Linked DNA regions of Homo sapiens: region 2 is linked to region 1. The links are contacts of gene promoters, found by promoter capture Hi-C in human tissues and cell types (Jung and others, 2019). All regions are on one chromosome and are shown on one strand. Each heading gives the region's core, a stretch centred on a gene start or on the middle of the fragment in contact. The rest is flanking DNA. Distances are from core to core; before and after follow the strand shown.

Region 1 (4,161 bases), core at 382-2,881:
ATTGCAAAAATTCAAAAAGATTGCAACCTCAGGCATAAATGGATTAATTAGCCATGGACCAAACCCTTCATCCAGATAAGGGGTAACGGACAGGGACCGCAAAAGGAGTACTTAAAACCCGGAAAACTTTGTAACTGAGCCCCTTCAGCCTCTTGCTCAGGCCCACTCCCACCCTGCGTAGTGCTTTCTCGCTTTAACAAATCCCAGCTGTCTGCTTCCTTCCTGTGTGTCATTCGTTTGTTACTTTCTGGGTTTTGTTCAATTCTTTGTTCGAAACGCTAAGGACCTGAACAACGCACACTCCTGGCCTTCCCTCTGGTAACAGGATGAGGGGCAGGCTTTGCGTGGAAGTAGCAGCAAGCCCTGGAGCCTAAGGCTTATTTGTTAGCCAGGAGTGATAGCCCCTGTGCCACGCTGCGTCCTGCGTTCCCCGCACTTGCTGTACAAGATTTTCGAAAGCTGGAGTGCGGCTCTTCTCTATTTTTCCCAGGGGCACCAGGACCCCTAAAAGCGCCCGTGTATGTGCCTCCTATGATAGGGTAGCCCAGGCCCTGGGATAAGAGTATGTGTGGTTTCTTGGCTTGGTGACACTCCCACCCCCTCCATGAACCCTCCCTCCTTTGACGGCCACGTTTGAAATAACCACAGCCTTGGGGTTGGTCCCATCCTTTATTCGAGTTTCCTTGCCCCTACCCTAGCCCCGACCCTGACGTTGGCCAGCTAGGTGCGGCTGCAGGGATTCATGGCAGTACCCAGCTTGCGGCAGTAGCAGAAGGCATTGAAGAAGCGGCAGTAGCACGTGGCACATGGGTCACAGCAAGGCACCTGCTGTCCCAGGCAGGACTCATGCAGCCTTACGCAGCGACGTGAGGAGCGGGGCTCGCGGTCCTGCAGGTCTAGTACCTGCAGGGGTGGGGAACCAGCACAGGCCTCTAAAGACAGATCCAGGGATCTTACCTGTCCCAACCTGTGCAGGATGGCAGTGGAGCATGGGAAGGGGTGGTCGGTAGTGTCGTCGCTGGTGAGGGAGTTTGGAGCTGGGGAGAGGAGCTAATACCCAATGCCCCCTCCCAAGGGCCACCACCTTACCCTTTTCCCTGAGCAGTTACCTCTGCCAAGGCCTGAGCCTCCTGCAACAGATCCTCTTCTGCCTGTTCTGCAGTTGTCTTCTTCAGTGGGGCCCGCAGGCCCAGGCCTGGGGCAGAGGATGTGAGGGCAGGAACCCCCATGCACAAAGCACCCACCTCCCAGGGGAGGGTTTGGGAAGGGAGAAAGAGGGTTTATGCCAGGGGAGACTATTTGTGGCCAGAGGGTATTCAGGCCCCGCCCAGTCCCACCCTTGCTCACACTGACCTGGGAGCTCTGGGAGCAGGGCCTGGTCAGGCCTTCTGATGCCCTCCATGGGGGCCAAGCCCATCTGGGCTCCTCGCGTGGCAGGCAGTGCCAGCAGCAGGGCACAGCTCAGCACCGCTGCGGTCAGCATGGCCTGGCTCAGCAGGAAGATGTACCACTTAGTCCCTCCTTATCCTTGGAGTCCCCTCTAGGTGCCCAGATAGAGACCCCACAGAGAGGAGGAGTCCCTGCCCAACCTGAGGACTCACCTCTGCCTCCGGGATTCTTGCCTAGAGAGTTCCCGGCCACCCCGTGCCCTTGGCTTATATGGCAGGGCCTAATGAAGGGCCACACGTGACTGATCCCTGCAGCCAGGCCGTGAAGGACCCTTCCTGGAGGGTGGGGGCACAGTTCAGGCCCTCACTCCCTGAACCTGAGCCTTTTGTTCTACAAGAGGAGTGCCTATCTCCAATTTGGGGTGAGGTTTCCAGGAGCCGATTAAAATTTGGGAGCAAGAGAGGGTGCCCAGGGTCCACAAATTTCCACAGGACAGGGACCTAGGAGCTGAGCAGGGCTAGAACCATTAGCAATAACAAGGCAGGCGGCCCTGAAAGCTTAATTTAATTTGTGGCCCCAGAGATGCTTACTCAACCCCTATGTGGCATGTTGTTTCCTGTGCTTCCAAGAATTCGGGTCAAGGACATTGGAGCGGGTGATGGGCCAATGGCCACTGTTGGGCAGGGGTAGGTGCAGAACCAGAACCTGGGTTTCTTTGGAGGGAAAGGGGAAGGAAAAGCCCACCTAACCAATCCTAGGCCCTCCTGACTACATTTCTGGTCCTCCCCTCCCTTTCTCCCTCCAGGTTTCTCCAAGACCGCCCACTCCTGCTCCTGTCCCCAAACCCCTTTCTGCCTAGGGTTCCTGGAAGCCAAGGAAACAGAACGAACTGTTCCCTGGGTGGGCGAGCCACTGCAGAGTACAAAGCTTTCAGGCCGCCTGCCTCATTAGCACTAATGGCTGCTCCCTTCCGCCCTGTGTCGTCAGGACTGTCTATGCCTGGTCTCATCAGCACAAGGCTGGGGTAAGGACTGCCCTTTTGTGGAGATGGCAGGACATACAGGACCCTGCTGCCCCTGCCTTCCCTCACCCCACTGCAGAGCTGTTTATCACACACGTGTCCATCTGGGAAAGGAATGCAGGCTGAATCAGCTTTGAGAGGATCGCAAGGCCCCAGTGCACAAACTGGGTTGGCACAAGGCAGTGGAAAAAAGATGAAGGGGGCCAGGTATGGTGGCTCACACCTGTAATTCCAGCATTTTGAGAGGCCAAGGTGGGAGGATCACAAGGCCAGGGGTTTAAGACCAGCCTGGGTATCATGGTGAGACCCCGTTGCTACAAAAAATAAAAAAATAGCTGGGTGTAGTGGTGCATGCCTGTAGTAGAGGCTGAGGTGGGAGGATGGCTTGAGCACAGGGATTCAAGAGTGCAGTGAGCTATGACTGCATCACCACACTCCAGGCTGAGCGACAGAGCAAGATCCTGTCTCAAAAAGAAAAGAAGATAAAGGGTGGCCAGGCACGGTGGCTCACGCCTGTAATCCCAGCATTTTGGGAGGCCAAGGTGGGCGGATCACTGGAGGTCAGGAGTTCAAACCAGCTTGGCCAATATGGTGAAACCCTATCTCTACTAAAAATACAAAAGTTATTCAGGCATGGTGGCACATGCCTGTAATCCCACCTACCCGGGAGGCTGAGGCAGGAGAATCACTTGTAACACGGGAGGCAGAGACTGCAGTGAGCAGAGATCGCACCACTGCACTCCAACCTGGGTGACAGAGTGAGACTCCATCTTAAAAAAAAAATGCTATTTAAAATGAAATGAAGCAATCCATACTCCCAACATTTATATATACTGGGACATCCAAGAAATTAAAATCACACCTCATTATGTCTTTTTCTTTGAGTCAGGGTCTCACTCTGTCACCCAGGCTGGGCCTGGTCAGCACCCATGCTATGGAGAGCTCTTCATGGTCTGGTGTGGACAGAGTGGGAGTGGAAGATCTCCTCCCACACAGGTGCTCAGTGTCTTACCTCACCTACGGGCAGCAGCTGTCTTCACCTGAGTGTGTGCACACAGGTGTATCAGCCCCATGGGCAGTGATGGACGAGGGCTGAGGCACTCACAGGGCAGCCCATGCCCCGGTCAGGTCCAGTGGGGGAGATATCAAGAAAACCCAGCGCCAAAATGCAATGAGCTGTGATCGCGCTACTGCACTCCAGCCTGGGCGACAAAGCAAGTTGCCGTCTCAAAAAACAAAAACAAAACTAAACAAAAAAAAAAAAACGGCCAGGTGTAGTGATTCACACCTTCTTGAGCCCAGGAGTGGCAACATAGTGAGACTCTGTCTCTACCAAAAAAAAAAAATTTAATTAGCTGAATGTGGTGATGCACACCTGTAGTCCCAGCTACTCAGGAGACAGGGAGGAGGATAGCTTCGGCCCAGGAGATTGAGGCTGCAGTGAGCCATGGTGGTGGTGGCTCACGCCTATAATCCCAGCACTTTGGGAGGCTGAGGCAGGCAGATCACTTGAGCCTAGGAATTCGAGGCCAGCCTGGGCAACATGGCGAAACCCAGTCCCCATTAAAAAAAAAAAAAAAAAAGGCCAGGTGCGGTGGCTCACGCCTGTAATCCCAGCACTTTGGGAGGCCGAGGTGGGCAGATCACAAGGTCAGGAGATGGAGACTATCCTGCCTAGCACAGCAAAACCCCATCTCTACTAAAAATACAAAAAAAAAAAAAATTTAGCCGGGCGTCATAGCGGGCACCTG
Region 2 (3,958 bases), core at 632-3,131, 150 kb before region 1:
TGGTTGATGTATGTCTTAAGTCTTATTTGATCTGTAGGCTCCCCATTTTTTTTCCCTCGCATTTTCAATTGTTTTTGAAGAAACTGGCTTTGAAAGAGTTTACTATAACCTGAACTTTGCTCATTGCATTCCTAAGATGTTAAACATTTTCCCGTGTTCCCTGTACTTCCTATGAATTGGTAGTTAGATGAGGCTTAATCAGATTCAGGTTGGATTTTTTTTTTTTCACAAGACGATTTCATAGGTAATGGTGTATGTTTATGTTAGGAAGTATATGGTGCCTAGTGTTCTTTCTTTTCGTGATATCAGCCACTGAATATGATTACCTAAGTTAATTCATTAGGGATTGCAAAATGGTAATTGTCTATTTCTTTCATTTTTCTTCATTAACTGTAATACTTCTATAAAGAGAAATTTCCTCACATCAACTGTTTGCTTATCCTGAGGTACAGTTTGTATAGGAAAGGCAGCATAAAAGCTTGATTTGTTTTCACCTTATATGCCAGCTTTCAGAATGATGAGTTATTTTCTTAGCATTCTCCAAAGGTGACCAGTGAGGACTGTTTTGCTTTCTCAGTATCATTATAAACTCATCGATTTAAATATATGTCTTAGGGCTGGGCATGGTCGTTCACGCCTGTAATCCCAGCATTTTGGGAGGCCAAGGAGGATGGATCACCTGAGGTCAGGAGTTCAAGACCAGTCTGTCCAACATGGTGAAACCTCATCTGTACTAAAAATACAAAAAAAATTAGCCCGGCATGGTGGCAGGTGCCTATAATCCCAGCTACTCAGGAGGCTGAGGCAGGAGAATCACTTGAGCCTGGGAAGCAGAGGTTGCAGTGAACTGAGATCGCACCACTGCACTTCAGCCTGGACGAAAGACTGAGACTCAGTCTAAATAAATAAATAAATAAATAAATGTCTTAGTCCCTTTTCTCTTGTCATAACAGAATACCATAGACTAGGTAATTTATAAAGAACAGAAGTTGATTTGGCTCATGGTTCTGGAGGCTGAGAAGTCCAAGAGCATGGTGCCAACATCTGGTGAGGGTCATTCCATGGTGGAAGGGCAGAAGGTGCATGTGTGAGATGTGAGAGAGAAAGAGAGAGAGAGAGAGAGAGAGAGAGAGAGAGAGAGAGAGAGAGAAGACTGAACTAATTCCTTTATTAGGATAGCTAACTCCCGTGATAACTAACTCCATGATAACAGCATGAAGCCACCGTTGACCTAATCACCTCTTAGAGGCCCCACCTCGCAGTGCTGTTACATTGGCAATTACGTTTCAACATGAAAGCTGGGCATGGCGGCTTACACACTTTGGAAGGCCAGGGAGGAGGATGAGGCCAGGTATTTGAGACCAGCCTGGGCAACACAGCAAGATCCTGTCTCTACAAAAAATTTAAAAATTAACTGGGTGTTGGTGGTGTGTACCTGTAGTCCCAGCTACTCAGGAGGCTGAAGTGGAAGGATCCTCTGACCCCAGGAGTTTTAGGCTGCAGTGCACTATGATAGTGCTACTGCCCTCCAGCCTAGTTGACAGAGCAAGGCCCTATCTCTGAATAAATTAATACATTTCATCATGAGTTTTGGAGGGGACGTTCAAACCATAGCAATATATTTCAATGTAAGTTTTAATCCATTATAGTTCTTATCATAATTGATGTTCAGTTTATCCTAACTTTAGTTAATAGGTGATCTTTCAAGTTGACTCCTGAGGTCTTTTTAAAAAAGTTTTATGGCCAGGTGTAGTGGCTCACGCCTGTAATCCCAGCACTTTGGGAAGCCGAGGGGGGTGGATCACCTGAGGTTGGGAGTTTGAGACCAGCCTGGCCAGCATGTTGAAACCCCATCTCTACTAAAAATATAAAAATTAGCTGGGCGGGGTGGCACATGCCTGTAATCCCAGCTACTTGGGAGGCTGAGGCAGGAGAATCGCTTGAACCCTGAAGGCGGAGGTTGCAGTAAGCCAAGATCACACCATTGCACTCCAGCCTGGGCAAAGAGAGCGAAACTCCATCTCAAAAAAAAAAAGAAAAAGAAAAAGTTTTATTTATTAGAAACATTCATTGTCATTATAAATAAGCTTTGTTAAAGGTTGTTAATTCAATTTCCAAATGAGCTGTAAATGGTTTTCATTAGAGAGACTACTTGATTTGTTATTTTCAAATAGCAAATTTTTGCCCACTGGGGTTATGTAACCCATATATTAAAATTGGAAGATCATTCTTTTATTCTTGGCATCTATGCTGTGCAGTGTTTGATTTGTTCTCTGATTTGTCTTCACTCTTTATAAACACTGAAACGGCCAGGCGCGGTGGCTTACGCCTGTAATCCCAGCACTTTGGGAGGCTGAGGAGGGCGAATCACGAGGTCAGGAGATCGAGACAACCCTGGCTAACATGATGAAACCCTGTCTCTACTAAAAATACAAAAAAATTAGCTGGGCATGGTGGTGGGCGCCTGTAGTCCTAGCTACTTGGGAGGCTGAGACAGGAGAATGGCGTGAACCTGGGAGGCAGAGCTTGCAGTGTGCCAAGATGGTGCCATTGCACTCCAGCCTGGGTGACAGAGCGAGACTCCGTCTCAAAAAAAAATAATAAATAAATAAATAAACACTGAAACGAAATGCATAACCTCTTAAGACATGCATTCATGTGAATCATTAAAGAATGTTTGTCTTTGTGGCAGTTTATCATTTTAATAATTCACATTCCTTCTTAAAATGTTAAAATGTCTGCTCTTCAAAATAGACTGCAGTGAAAGGCATGAGAAATGCTGTGGGTCATTGATGGAAACCATAATTGTCCTTAGCTTTTGTCCCATGTTAACAGACTCTCAGGGTGTTAGATCATAACATACCACAGAATTACCAATACACTGCCCTCAAAGTCAGGAAAATTTTATTTATTTATTTATTTTATTTATTTATTTTTTTTTAAAAAAAACATGGTCTTATTCTGTTGCCCAAGCTGGAGTGCAGTGGCATGATCATGGCTCACTGCAGTCCCGACCTCCTGGGCTCAAGCAATCCTCCTGACTCTGCCTACTGAGTAGCTGGGACTACAGGTGTGCACCACCATGCCCAGCTAATTTTTTCTTTTTTTGTAGAGATGGGTGCATTTTAAAAAGATATAATTCACATACTATAAAGTTCACCGTTTTAGTATTTATTTATTTATTTTGAGATAAGAATCTTGCCCTATTGCCCAGGCTGCAGTGCAGTGGCCCGACCTCAGCTCACTGCAACCTCTATCCCAGGTTCAAGTGATTCTCCTGCCTCAGCATCCTGAGTAGGTGGGACTGCAGGCACGTCCCACCATACCCTGCTAATTTTTGTGTTTTTAGTAGAGACAGGGTTTCACCATGTTGGCCAGGCTGGTCTTGAACTCCTGACTTCAAGTGATCCACCTGCCTCCGCCTCCCAAAGTGCTGAAATTACAGGCATGAGCCACCACACGTAGCCCCATTTAAAAAATATACAATTCAGGGTCATTTTGTACATTTACAATGTTGTGCAAGCATCATTGCTACCTATATATAGTTCCAGAACATTTTCATCAACCCATTAGGCAGTCACACCTCATTTCCCACTACCCCTGGCTCCTGGCAACCAGTAAACTGCTTTCTGTCTCTGTGGATTTGCCTCTTCTGGGTATTTCATATCATTGGAATCATATAATATGTAGCCTTTTCTGTCTGGCTTCTTTGACTTAGCATAGTATTTTCATTATTCATTCATGTTTTAGCATGTATTAATACTTCATTCCTTTTTTAAAAAAATTAATAGACTTTATTTTTTAGAGCAGTTTTAGGTTTACAGAGAAATTGGGCATAAAGTACAGAGAGTTCTCATATACGCTTACCTTCCTTGCACCTCTCCCCACCCACCCCGTTTCCCTTAATTTTAATATCTTGCATTATTGTGATATATTACAATTTATGAACCAATATTGA

What was found. The method cuts DNA at HindIII sites, captures the fragments that hold promoters and counts their contacts. A contact is called where the count stands out against the background at its distance.
Region 2: a contact is called between a fragment that was not itself captured here and the fragment with the promoter of AGRP in region 1, in 1 of the 25 tissues and cell types used here (mesendoderm cells).

Annotation. Positions count from the first base shown.
Region 1 is chr16:67,481,916-67,486,076 of GRCh38, forward strand. It overlaps AGRP (agouti related neuropeptide), which reads right to left and starts at 1,632. Exons shown (of 4, transcript NM_001138.2): 1 at 1,602-1,632; 2 at 1,354-1,486; 3 at 1,110-1,195; 4 at 656-903. The coding sequence starts at 1,483. The coding sequence ends at 721. ATP6V0D1-DT (ATP6V0D1 divergent transcript) reads left to right here. Exons shown (of 4, transcript NR_184227.1): 2 at 2,195-2,413. The HindIII fragment of the contact is 1,388 bases long and covers 744-2,131 here.
Region 2 is chr16:67,329,965-67,333,922 of GRCh38, forward strand. All of the region lies in intron 1 of LRRC36 (leucine rich repeat containing 36), which reads left to right. Among named protein-coding and RNA genes, the nearest start is that of LRRC36, 5.1 kb to the left of the region's middle. The HindIII fragment of the contact is 7,189 bases long and covers 1-3,958 here.